Regions from separate parts of the Homo sapiens genome. Here all the other regions are linked to region 3. Evidence: promoter capture Hi-C in 16 types of primary human blood cells and fetal thymus (Javierre and others, 2016). All regions are on one chromosome and are shown on one strand. Each heading gives the region's core, a stretch centred on a gene start or on the middle of the fragment in contact. The rest is flanking DNA. Distances are from core to core; before and after follow the strand shown. Region 1 overlaps LARGE1 (LARGE xylosyl- and glucuronyltransferase 1). Region 2 has its middle 79 kb from the start of LARGE1-AS2. Region 3 holds the start of ISX (intestine specific homeobox).

Region 1 (3,177 bases), core at 339-2,838, 1.5 Mb before region 3:
GTTATTGGCTACAGAGCGCCACTAGCACTATAGCCATTGCAAGCTGCAAGAGAATAAACGTGATTTCCTAGCTACAGCTCTACAATCTCTGATGACCTGTTCTGGTGACTATGGTGGTTATACTTATCCAACGGAGACTTACAGCTCTAAATATATGCTGTGGGTTGAGTTTCTTTGGAAAAAGACCCCGAGATGGATGTCAGCATACAAGAGGTTTATTAGAGAGAGCTCTTGAGAACAGCACCTATGAAAGGGAAGGGGAGAAAGCAGGACTAGGCAGAGGGGAAAATCAGCCTGTGAGGCAGTATCCGAGTGTGGCAGATGATCCTGCAGGACCTCATGTTCATCAGCCATTCCGTGATGTGGGGTGTCCCACGAAGGGGTGTGGCCACAGGCATGGCCACTCACTTCAACAGAGGCAACTGCAAAAAGGGCTGATGCCTTTTCTGAGAGCCCCCGCTGCAGGGACTGCTCCCACCAGCTGGCGTAATAAGGCCTTTATTCCCAAAGGAAAATGTGGGAGTCTAGTACATACGACCACCATTCTCATCTGATGAGACAGAGCACAATTAGGAGCTCCTCCGTGACACCTTCCCAGCTACCTTCTCTAACCCCCTCTAGGAGAGGTGACAACTCTCACTGTCCCCTCATTACTCATCTCCTCATTTGCAGAGCCCGTCACACTGCTTCACACCCAGTAGGGATTCGATAAACGCCAGTTGAAGAAATGCATCACTGAACACTCAACATCAGCATAAGAAAATGAATAAAACACCATGTAATTATAGAAAAACTGCCCCTCGTGAGTTCACTGTGATCAGGAAGAGAAAAACAAACAGACACGATAGGGGAACTTGAAAAGAGCAGCGGATGGAAGCCAAGACACGGGCACTCTGATCTCAACTCTGGGAAAAGCCTGCATCCCTCTAAGCTTCCGTTTCTTTCTTTATGAAACAAAAGGACACGTCCACACGTTCTATGAAGATTAGAGAGCTGTGCCATACTCAATTTCAACAGCTGTCCTAAATGATGTCATTGTTAGTGTCATTATTGACACGAATAAGAAAAGTAAATTTTGATCCTGATAAGGGAAAGAGTCCCGGGGATCAAAATGTCATTCCCATGATTTGGTGAAGACTTTCCTCAATTAGCCCAGAGCTCAGAAGCCCTGAGAAGGAAGCAGGGAGTGACCAGGGCAAGCAAGGAAATTTACTCTCTGTTCATGAATAGAAACAGAAACCAACAGGAATATCCTGTGATTTATGAAAATGCTGGGATTTAAAATCATTAAGTAGTATTTTGCTTTCATAGGATATGGAGCTAAGAGGAATGGCAGAAGGGATTTTAAACACAGAAGGGGCTAGCGTGCAATTAAAAAAATATATAAAACTAAAAATTTCACTGTCGAATTTCTTTCTCATTGTACTCATCCAGTATAGAAGAATTTTTAAAATAATATAATTTTTAAAAAGACATCTGGGAGAGGGGTATTAAAATAACAGCCTAAGATTTGTGCTAACCTGCCACTTCTCTCACATATCCATGCCACAGTTAGTACACCTACTGAGCTCACAATTTCCCCCTAGGTACTCTCATATACCTTGAGGCCGTGACGAGAGTTACAATAATAGCTATAAAGAAACCCACCAGACTAGAAAGAACGTCTTGTAAAGAAAGCCAAATACATACATCTCCTTAAAATGATAAACCACAACGTTAATGAAAGCAAAAGCCATATGAACATTTTCAAAAACTCTAGAATCAATACTCATCTCTACTACCTCACAGGCTTTCTTGGCAATTAGACTATCCTTCGATAAAAAGAAAACCAATGAACACACGTCCCGACCAGTATGTGAACACTCCGCTATCTGCATACAAAATACACACATTTGATATTTATCTGTTAAAAACATCTTCATTTACTAAAGACATGTAAACAAGTTTCTGTTTTACTCTATTATTTTTCAAATCCAAGCAGAGTTGATATTGAACCATATTTGTAATTCCTCACCCACTGCATTAGCACGACCTCATTCGAGGAGACCTCACCTTTTTAAAAAAGTCAACCCCTATTCTTGGCATGCTGATACCTACAAGGATATCGGGGAAAAAACGAATGGGCTACCATTACCTTTGAACTTGTGGAACACAGCCCACAGCTCTGCAATGTCAGTGGCAAAGGTGATATCCGTGTCAAGGACGATGACTCTCTCCAGGTTGGCAGGAAGAGTCTTGGTCAGGACAAGCTTCATCAGACCATAAATCCCAGAGTAATGTTTATTGGGGATCCAGGAAACTTCAGACTAGACAGAACAAGGCAGAGAGAGAGTTGGAGAAAGGGAAAAAAAATTGCTATATTAATTCTTTGCTTAAACATTATAAATAGTGCCTAGCACACAAAAAGTATCCAATAAAAATTTGTTGAATAAATGAATGAGTTTTCTTTTAAAGATTTATATAATTTGCATTTTGACATGTGAAGTTTTCTGGAGGAAAATGTATCTGAATTAAGGGAGAGGAAAAGTAATAGTTATGAAATAATTATTACTGCAAATCCTATGTTGAGATTTTTAAATAAAACTTTTGTTATTATAGAAATTAAATAGATCCACTAGAGAAAAAAAGGATATGCAAAAACATAAAGGTCCAAAAATTGAATCCCACTACAAATACTTTTGCAACCAGTATCAAATTGTTCCTATGTACGTATATTTCTTTAAATCATATTCCATTTACGTGTCATTAAAGATTAGTGGGCAGTAGTATTGTTAAAGCTTATGCTTATTCTTTTAAAACTGTAATTGAATAGATTACTACTGCTGCCTTCTCTTTATTCTCAGATAAATAAGAGGACCTAGTCATCACGCGACACTCTTCACCTGACAGCAATAGAGGACACACACATAGGACAGAAGGAGGACCTAGTCATCACGTGACACTCTTCACCTCCTAGTCAAGGAGGACCTAGTCATCACGCGACACTCTTCACCTGACAGCAATAGAGGACACACACATAGGACAGAAATGAACCACCCATGGAGCACTGACATTATGATCCTCACATAACATAATGGAACAATCAATGGCTTGCAGGTGGGCAGAGTCATCAGCGAGGTACACACACGGGTGCCATTTTGTGTCCAAAGGCAAGGATAAAAATAAAAGCACCAGTGT
Region 2 (3,054 bases), core at 140-2,639, 1.8 Mb before region 3:
GTGAATGGATAAATGAAAAAAAGTTATATATATGTACATATATGTGTATATATGTATATGTATATATGTGTATATATGTGTGTATATGTGTGTGTATATATGTACATATATATGTATCTATGTACATATATGTATATATGTATATATATGTGTGTGTATATGTGTGTGTGTATGTATATATATTACAATGAAATACTATTCAGCCTTAAAAAGGCAGGGAATCCTGTCATTTAACACAATATGGATAAACCTAGAGGACTCTAAAGGCAAATACCACATGTTCTCACTCACAAAATCTAAACAAGTTGAACTCCTACAAGTAGAGAGTAGGATGATGGTTACCAAGGGCTGGGGGACGGGAGAGGATGGGGAAAGCATAGCTGTCCATCAAAGGGTAGAAAGTTTCATTTAGACAAGAGGAATCAGCTTTAGTGATCTATTTCACAGAATGGTGACTATAATTAATAATGCATTACATAATTCAAAATTGCTAAAAGTAGATCTTAAATGTTTTCACCATAGAAAAATAAGTATGTGAGGTAGTGAATATGTTGACTAGCCTGATTTAATCATTTCACATTGTAAACATATATCAAAACATCACATTGTGCCCAATAAATATATTTAAAATATTATTTTTTCAATTAAAAATAAAATTTTAAAGATAAAGAATGAATAGTAAGTAGACTGTCAGTATGTTCATAGAATACTCTTAGCAGGTGGGAACCCTGAATCACTAATGACCTCAGGGCAGTTATGTACCTCTGGTGGAGAGAGGTGATTCATTCTGCTCCCAGAACTTGTTAAAAATATCCCTTAACCAAATTCAATTTATATGCACCTATCAATCTTCTAGTCTTAATGCACTTCCCCAAGTAGATTTCTTAAACTAGAACAGAAATGTGTTGGCTGAGTGACACATTCTCAGTCTATTGCTAGATAGACTGAGAATTGCACACTGTTAGGTGATTATGTTGGCTCTGTACTTTTTAAAGCTATTTTATACAATTTTGGTTCATATGGACACGATCTCAGCACTCCTGCTGGGAACTAACAGAACTAAGCTTTTCTTTCCGTTTTTTTCATATATATGTTATCCAAGGAGGACAATTTTTATTTATGTTTTTCTCACAGGGTCTTGAGGGTGCTCAATTAACATAGTTGAGTTGAGCAGTTAGTGAAAGTGAGAACTAAACTCTAGGGACATGTATGAGTTTGCTAGGGCTGCTGTAACAAAGTACCACAACTGGTGGCATATCAACAGAAAAGTATTGTCTCACAGTTCTGGAGCCTCGAAGTCTGAGATGTCACATAGGTTTGGTTCCATTTGAAGACTGTGAAGAACAGCCTGCCCCATGTTTCTACACCAGCTTCTGGTGGTTTGCTGGCAATCTTTGACATTTTTGCCTAGTACAAGCATCACCTCCATCTCTGCCTTCCTCTCCACATGGCATTTTCCCTGTGTGTGTCTCTATTTGTCTGAATTTCCCCTTTCTATAAGGACATCAGTCACATTGGATTGAGTGCTCACCTTTCTCCAGGATGACCTCATCTAAACTCATCTAATTCCATCTACAATGACTCCATTTACAAATAGTCACATTCTGAGGTAGCAAGGGTTAGGACTTCAGCATATGAATTTGCATGGGGGGCAGTAGAGCTAATTCAACCCATAACAAGACAGAATTAACAATAACCATTGAAAACTTTAAATAAAGCTTTATATCAAAACATACTTTTAAGTAAAACTTTATTTAGATATAATTTATGTATATTTTAAGTGTACAGTTTGATGCGTTTTGACACATGTACACATCTATTTAACTTCTACCACTATCAAGATATAAAACATTTTTTATCACCTCAGAAAGTTCCTTTGCTTCTCTTTTTAATCAATATTCCCCAACCCAATCACCATTCTGACAACCACTTATTTGATTTCTGTCACCAATGATTAGTTTTGTCTATTCTAGAACATCAAATATTCCTTGGAATTATATACTTTGTAGTCTTTAATGTCAGGCAATTTTTCTGTAAATGTAATGCCTGTGAGAGTCATCCATTTTATGTGTATCAGTAATTTTTTCCTTTTATTGCTGAGTAGAATTTCACTTCATAAATATACCAACATTTCTCTATCCGTTCATTTGTTGTTGGACAGTTGGGTTGTTTCCAGTTTCAGGCTTTCCTGAACAGGCCTTCTATGAGCATTCATGTGCTAATATTTTTTTGTGGGCATATGTTCTTATTTCTTTTGGATAAATATTTAGACATGAAAGTGTTGAGTCATGCATAAAGAGTTTTCAGGTCACCTTTTTTTATTCTGAAAGTAGTAAAATCAGCCAAGCATTCATTGGCGTTAGGGACTTACCCATGGAGCCCATTCTCAATAAAAGTCCTGAAACCCACTCCAGGCAAAAGTGTAGGTATCATCATTCCAATAGTAAATAATGTGGTCATTTCACTTTGTGTGGTGGTTTACAGTTTTTTGTTTTGTTTTGTTTTGTTTTGAGGCGGAGTCTTGCTCTGTCGCCCAGGCTGGAGTGCAGTGGCGCGATCTCGGCTCACTGTAAGCTCCGCCTCCTGGGTTCATGCCATTCTCCTGCCTCAGCCTCCCAAATAGCTGGGATTACAGGCACCCGCCACCAAGCCCAGCTAATTTTTTTTTTTTTGTATTTTTAGTAGAGACGGGGCTTCACCATGTTAACCAGGATGGTCTCGATCTCCTGACCTCGTGATCCGCCCACTTCGGCCTCCCAAAGTGCTGGGATTACAGACATGAGCCACCGCGCCCGGCCTATAGTTTTTAAAGTCTTTTCATATTCACTGTCTAGTTCAATTATTGTCACAAATTCTAATAAGCTAAGCAAAGATGACCATCCCCATTGTGCAGATGAGGAAACTGAGTCTCAAAAAGGCTAAGCAACTTTTTAGAAGAGAGCTGAAACATGAATCCAAGCCTCTGACTTTTTATGCTCCCTGAACTCCATTCTTTAGCCCCATTTTATCCAAAATTCAGCTTGTTTGGATCAAAGTGGAAGGGAGTCCCTGGAA
Region 3 (3,328 bases), core at 667-3,166:
CAGGTGTAACTCTGGCAATTTCTCTCGCTGCTGCTCAGTTCTTCACCTGTGAAATGAGAGGGCTGAGCCAGATGGTCTCTGGGTATTACAGCAAAGTGGGAGGGATGTGAGGTGCAGAGCCAGACTCACCTGAGTTTGAATCTTGCTGCTTCTAGTGGCTAGCTGTCCTATCACTCCACTTCTCTGGGCATGTCTCCTCAGCTGTTAAATGGCATTAATGACACCTAATTGATCAGGCTGTTGAATGGATTAAGTGAAACGGTGAGCACACAGCTGCAGGCACGAGGTCCAGCAGAGAGAAAGGGCTCCATCGCCTCTCTCTTTTTGCCTCTGCCACTTCCACCCCCAAAGATCCTGTCCTTGCTCTTGACCAAGCATCTCAAGTACCCATCAGAGCTTCCTCTGCCCTGAGTGTAAGGAACCTTGTCCTCTCATCCAACAACCCCTTCCATGGACCAATGGTGGGCCTGACTTCTAGGGGACTCTGGCCTCTTCACTGCAAAAGTCAACAAACTGGTTCATTTGTCTCCTGGCAGGAAAACTCCCCTGTCCAGCCCTAGGAAAGGGATAGGTCTAAGCAGGGTCATGTGACTCCCTCTGGCCACAGAATGTGAGCAGAAGGTCTATCAACCACTTCCACTTCTGACTCATCAAAATTTCTCCTTTCAACAGAAAACCAAATACTGAATGTTCTCACTCATAGGTGGGAGTTGAACAATGAGAACACATGGACACAGGGAGGGGGAAAATACACACTGGGGCCAGTCAAGGGGTTGGGGGCAAGGGGAGGGAGAGCATTAGGACAAATACCTAATGCACGCAGGACTTAAACCTAGATGATGGGGTGATAGGTACAGCAAAGCACCAAGGCACATGTATACCTATGTAACAAACCTGCACATTCTGCACATGTATCCCAGAACTTAAAATTAAAAAAAAAAAATTCTCCTTTGCTGTCTCCCTTTCCCCAGAAAACTTGGAGCCTATGATTGGAGAATGGTGGCATCACTGTTTGAAAGGAATCTGGGTCCCTAAATGACTACATTAGAATGTGATGTGGGTGAGCTATTATGCTCCCAAGACTATAGGGTTTACTTGCTACTACAGCAGAGCCTATTCCCCCCCTAACTAAATCAGACAGCCTGACACTTCCAAGGGGCACAGCTCCTAAAATGGGGCATCTTTACCTGTTCCCTCTCTCAGGGTGAGTCCCTCTCTCTCCTGACTCACTCTTCTCAGGGAGTGGAGACCAACGTTCCCTATCCTTCACCTCCCACCCCTGCCCTCTATGAGAAGATCTAGATTCTAACATCCAAATTTACATTCACAGTCTCTGCCAGGGTATCCATCCCTCCTGTGCAAATTGGCTCCTTGTGGCCAGCATGGCATCATGGACATCCCCAGGGGAGTACTGTGATCAGGCCCTGCCATCACATTTTCTGTACCTCCTTGGTCTGGACCTCAGTTTCCCCATATCAGAAAGCCCTGGAATGCTTTTCCTGATCTGATATTTGCAAGCCATGGAAAGCACATCTGAGAGCAAATGAATGCCTAAGGCTGACAGCCAGCAGACTGCACCTCAGCCCAGCCTCCCCCACACATGACCACAGGCTCTCCTGGCTGAGTAAACATGTTTTATTGGGCCTGGGTACACTTCCTGGCCATTCTGCTCCCACCTTCCCTTCCCCTGCTCTGGCCAGTTCCCCAGCACAGCCCCTCCCTGGGGCCTCCAATACCTGTCCTTCAGATCCCCACTGCCTCCTGCCACTTTTCTACCCTGACACCTGCATCCCCAGCCTTAAGGGGCGTGGAGAGTTTTTCTCTTATCAGCCTGTTTTACTGCCCCCTCCTCCTTGGTTACACAGTAATTTGGAGCAAAATTCCAGGCAAGGACAGATCAACAACTGTCAGCTCCCAGTCAGAGAGAAAGGGCCTCTTCAGTCTGTCTCAGGAGACTGGGAGAAACAGCATAAAGGACCCCACAAGGAAGGGAGAGGTACCCTGGGTCAGGCGCTTGTGGAGAGAGGGCTTCGCATGTAAAGTGACGTCAGGGAAAATAGAACAGAAAAAAAGCCAGGGCCAGCCCAGAGGCACCTGAGAAGAATCAGACCCACAGCTCAGCCCAGCCCTGGCACAGAGAAGAGACAGGCCTGGCAGCACCCAGGGACCCCCTTTCCTCAGCCTCCACCTGCAGGACAGCAGGAGCACTGATGCGCTGAAGGTACGTTCTGGAGTCTGGAAGCAGCAGAACTGAAGGAAGTAAACACGGGTGTCTGGGAAGACCCCTCAAGCTGCAGTAAAGCCCAGGACTGAATTGGCCACCTGAGGCCAAGGGTGGCACTCCAACCTCCTCCTAAAGGCTGGCTAGAGCCACAGGAAAGGGCCAGAAGCCAGAGAAAGGGCAAAGGTGGACCCCTGCCTCCAAACCTCCTCTGGAGACTGACCTCCTCTTTCCTGTGCCTTATTGTTTCTCCCTCTTCTCTTTGTTCGCCACTGGGCGGTGACCTCAGGGATCCTGGCCTAACCTGGTGATTGTGCAGGCAACTGTGTCCGAGAAGACCCTTCTCTGGAAGATTGAACCCCAATTCAGCCATGGTGACTCCTTTGATGTCAAACTGGTAAGGGCTGAGCCGTGGGCACAGGATACCACTCCTTCCAGCTCTTCTGCTGTGACCTGCCCATGGAAGTCCCTGTGGACACGAAATCCTGTTTGGATCATCTAACTGGAGGCTCTCTGTTCTTCACCTCCACGCGCCCTCTTGACCCCAGGAGGTTCAGGGGAGGAAGTACGCCACTCTCCACTGGCACCCTCCTTGGCCTACACAGAGTCACCCCTGAGCCCCTCAATGTGTGCTGAGGTGGGCCCTGCTCTCTGCAGGGGTATGGAGAGAAATAGCTTGGGGTGCTGTGAGGCCCCGAAGAAGCTGAGCCTGTCCTTCTCCATTGAGGCGATCCTAAAGAGGCCTGCCAGGAGGAGTGATATGGACAGACCAGAAGGGCCAGGTGAAGAGGGCCCCGGAGAAGCTGCGGCCTCAGGCTCTGGGCTAGAAAAGCCTCCAAAGGACCAGCCCCAGGGTAAGTGTCTTCTGATCATTTCTTTCTGTTTCCTGGTCTCCAAGACCCAGCTGGGCTCAGGCAGAGAAAAAGCTTCTCCGTCCATATTAACTGGATAGAGGACTCTAAAATTCAGAGCAAGACCTGGCTCTGGGCTGGTTTCCTGATATACCTTTCAATCTAACCCAAAACTGTGCTTTTCAGCTTCAGACACCAAGGCTCAGTTAGTTGCAGAATGCAGGGACCTGGGGCTTGTTATTGTAACCAGGCCCCG

Evidence for each region. Contacts are between HindIII fragments. The CHiCAGO score rates a contact against its expected background, and 5 or more counts as called.
Region 1: a contact is called between a fragment that was not itself captured here and the fragment with the promoter of ISX in region 3, in 1 of 17 cell types (endothelial precursors). The highest score is 5.5, in endothelial precursors.
Region 2: a fragment that was not itself captured here is called in contact with the fragment with the promoter of ISX in region 3 in 1 of 17 cell types (endothelial precursors); the score reaches 5.1 in endothelial precursors.

The regions. Positions count from the first base shown.
Region 1 is chr22:33,562,714-33,565,890 of GRCh38, forward strand. LARGE1 (LARGE xylosyl- and glucuronyltransferase 1) reads right to left here. Exons shown (of 15, transcript NM_133642.5): 6 at 2,135-2,306. Among named protein-coding and RNA genes, the nearest start is that of MIR4764, 130 kb to the left of the region's middle. The HindIII fragment of the contact is 1,318 bases long and covers 930-2,247 here.
Region 2 is chr22:33,241,497-33,244,550 of GRCh38, forward strand. It overlaps a transcript of LARGE1 not described here. Among named protein-coding and RNA genes, the nearest start is that of LARGE1-AS2, 79 kb to the left of the region's middle. The HindIII fragment of the contact is 654 bases long and covers 1,063-1,716 here.
Region 3 is chr22:35,064,242-35,067,569 of GRCh38, forward strand. ISX (intestine specific homeobox) reads left to right here and starts at 1,917. Exons shown (of 5, transcript NM_001303508.2): 1 at 1,917-2,221; 2 at 2,511-3,075. The coding sequence starts at 2,847. The HindIII fragment of the contact is 3,728 bases long and covers 1-3,145 here.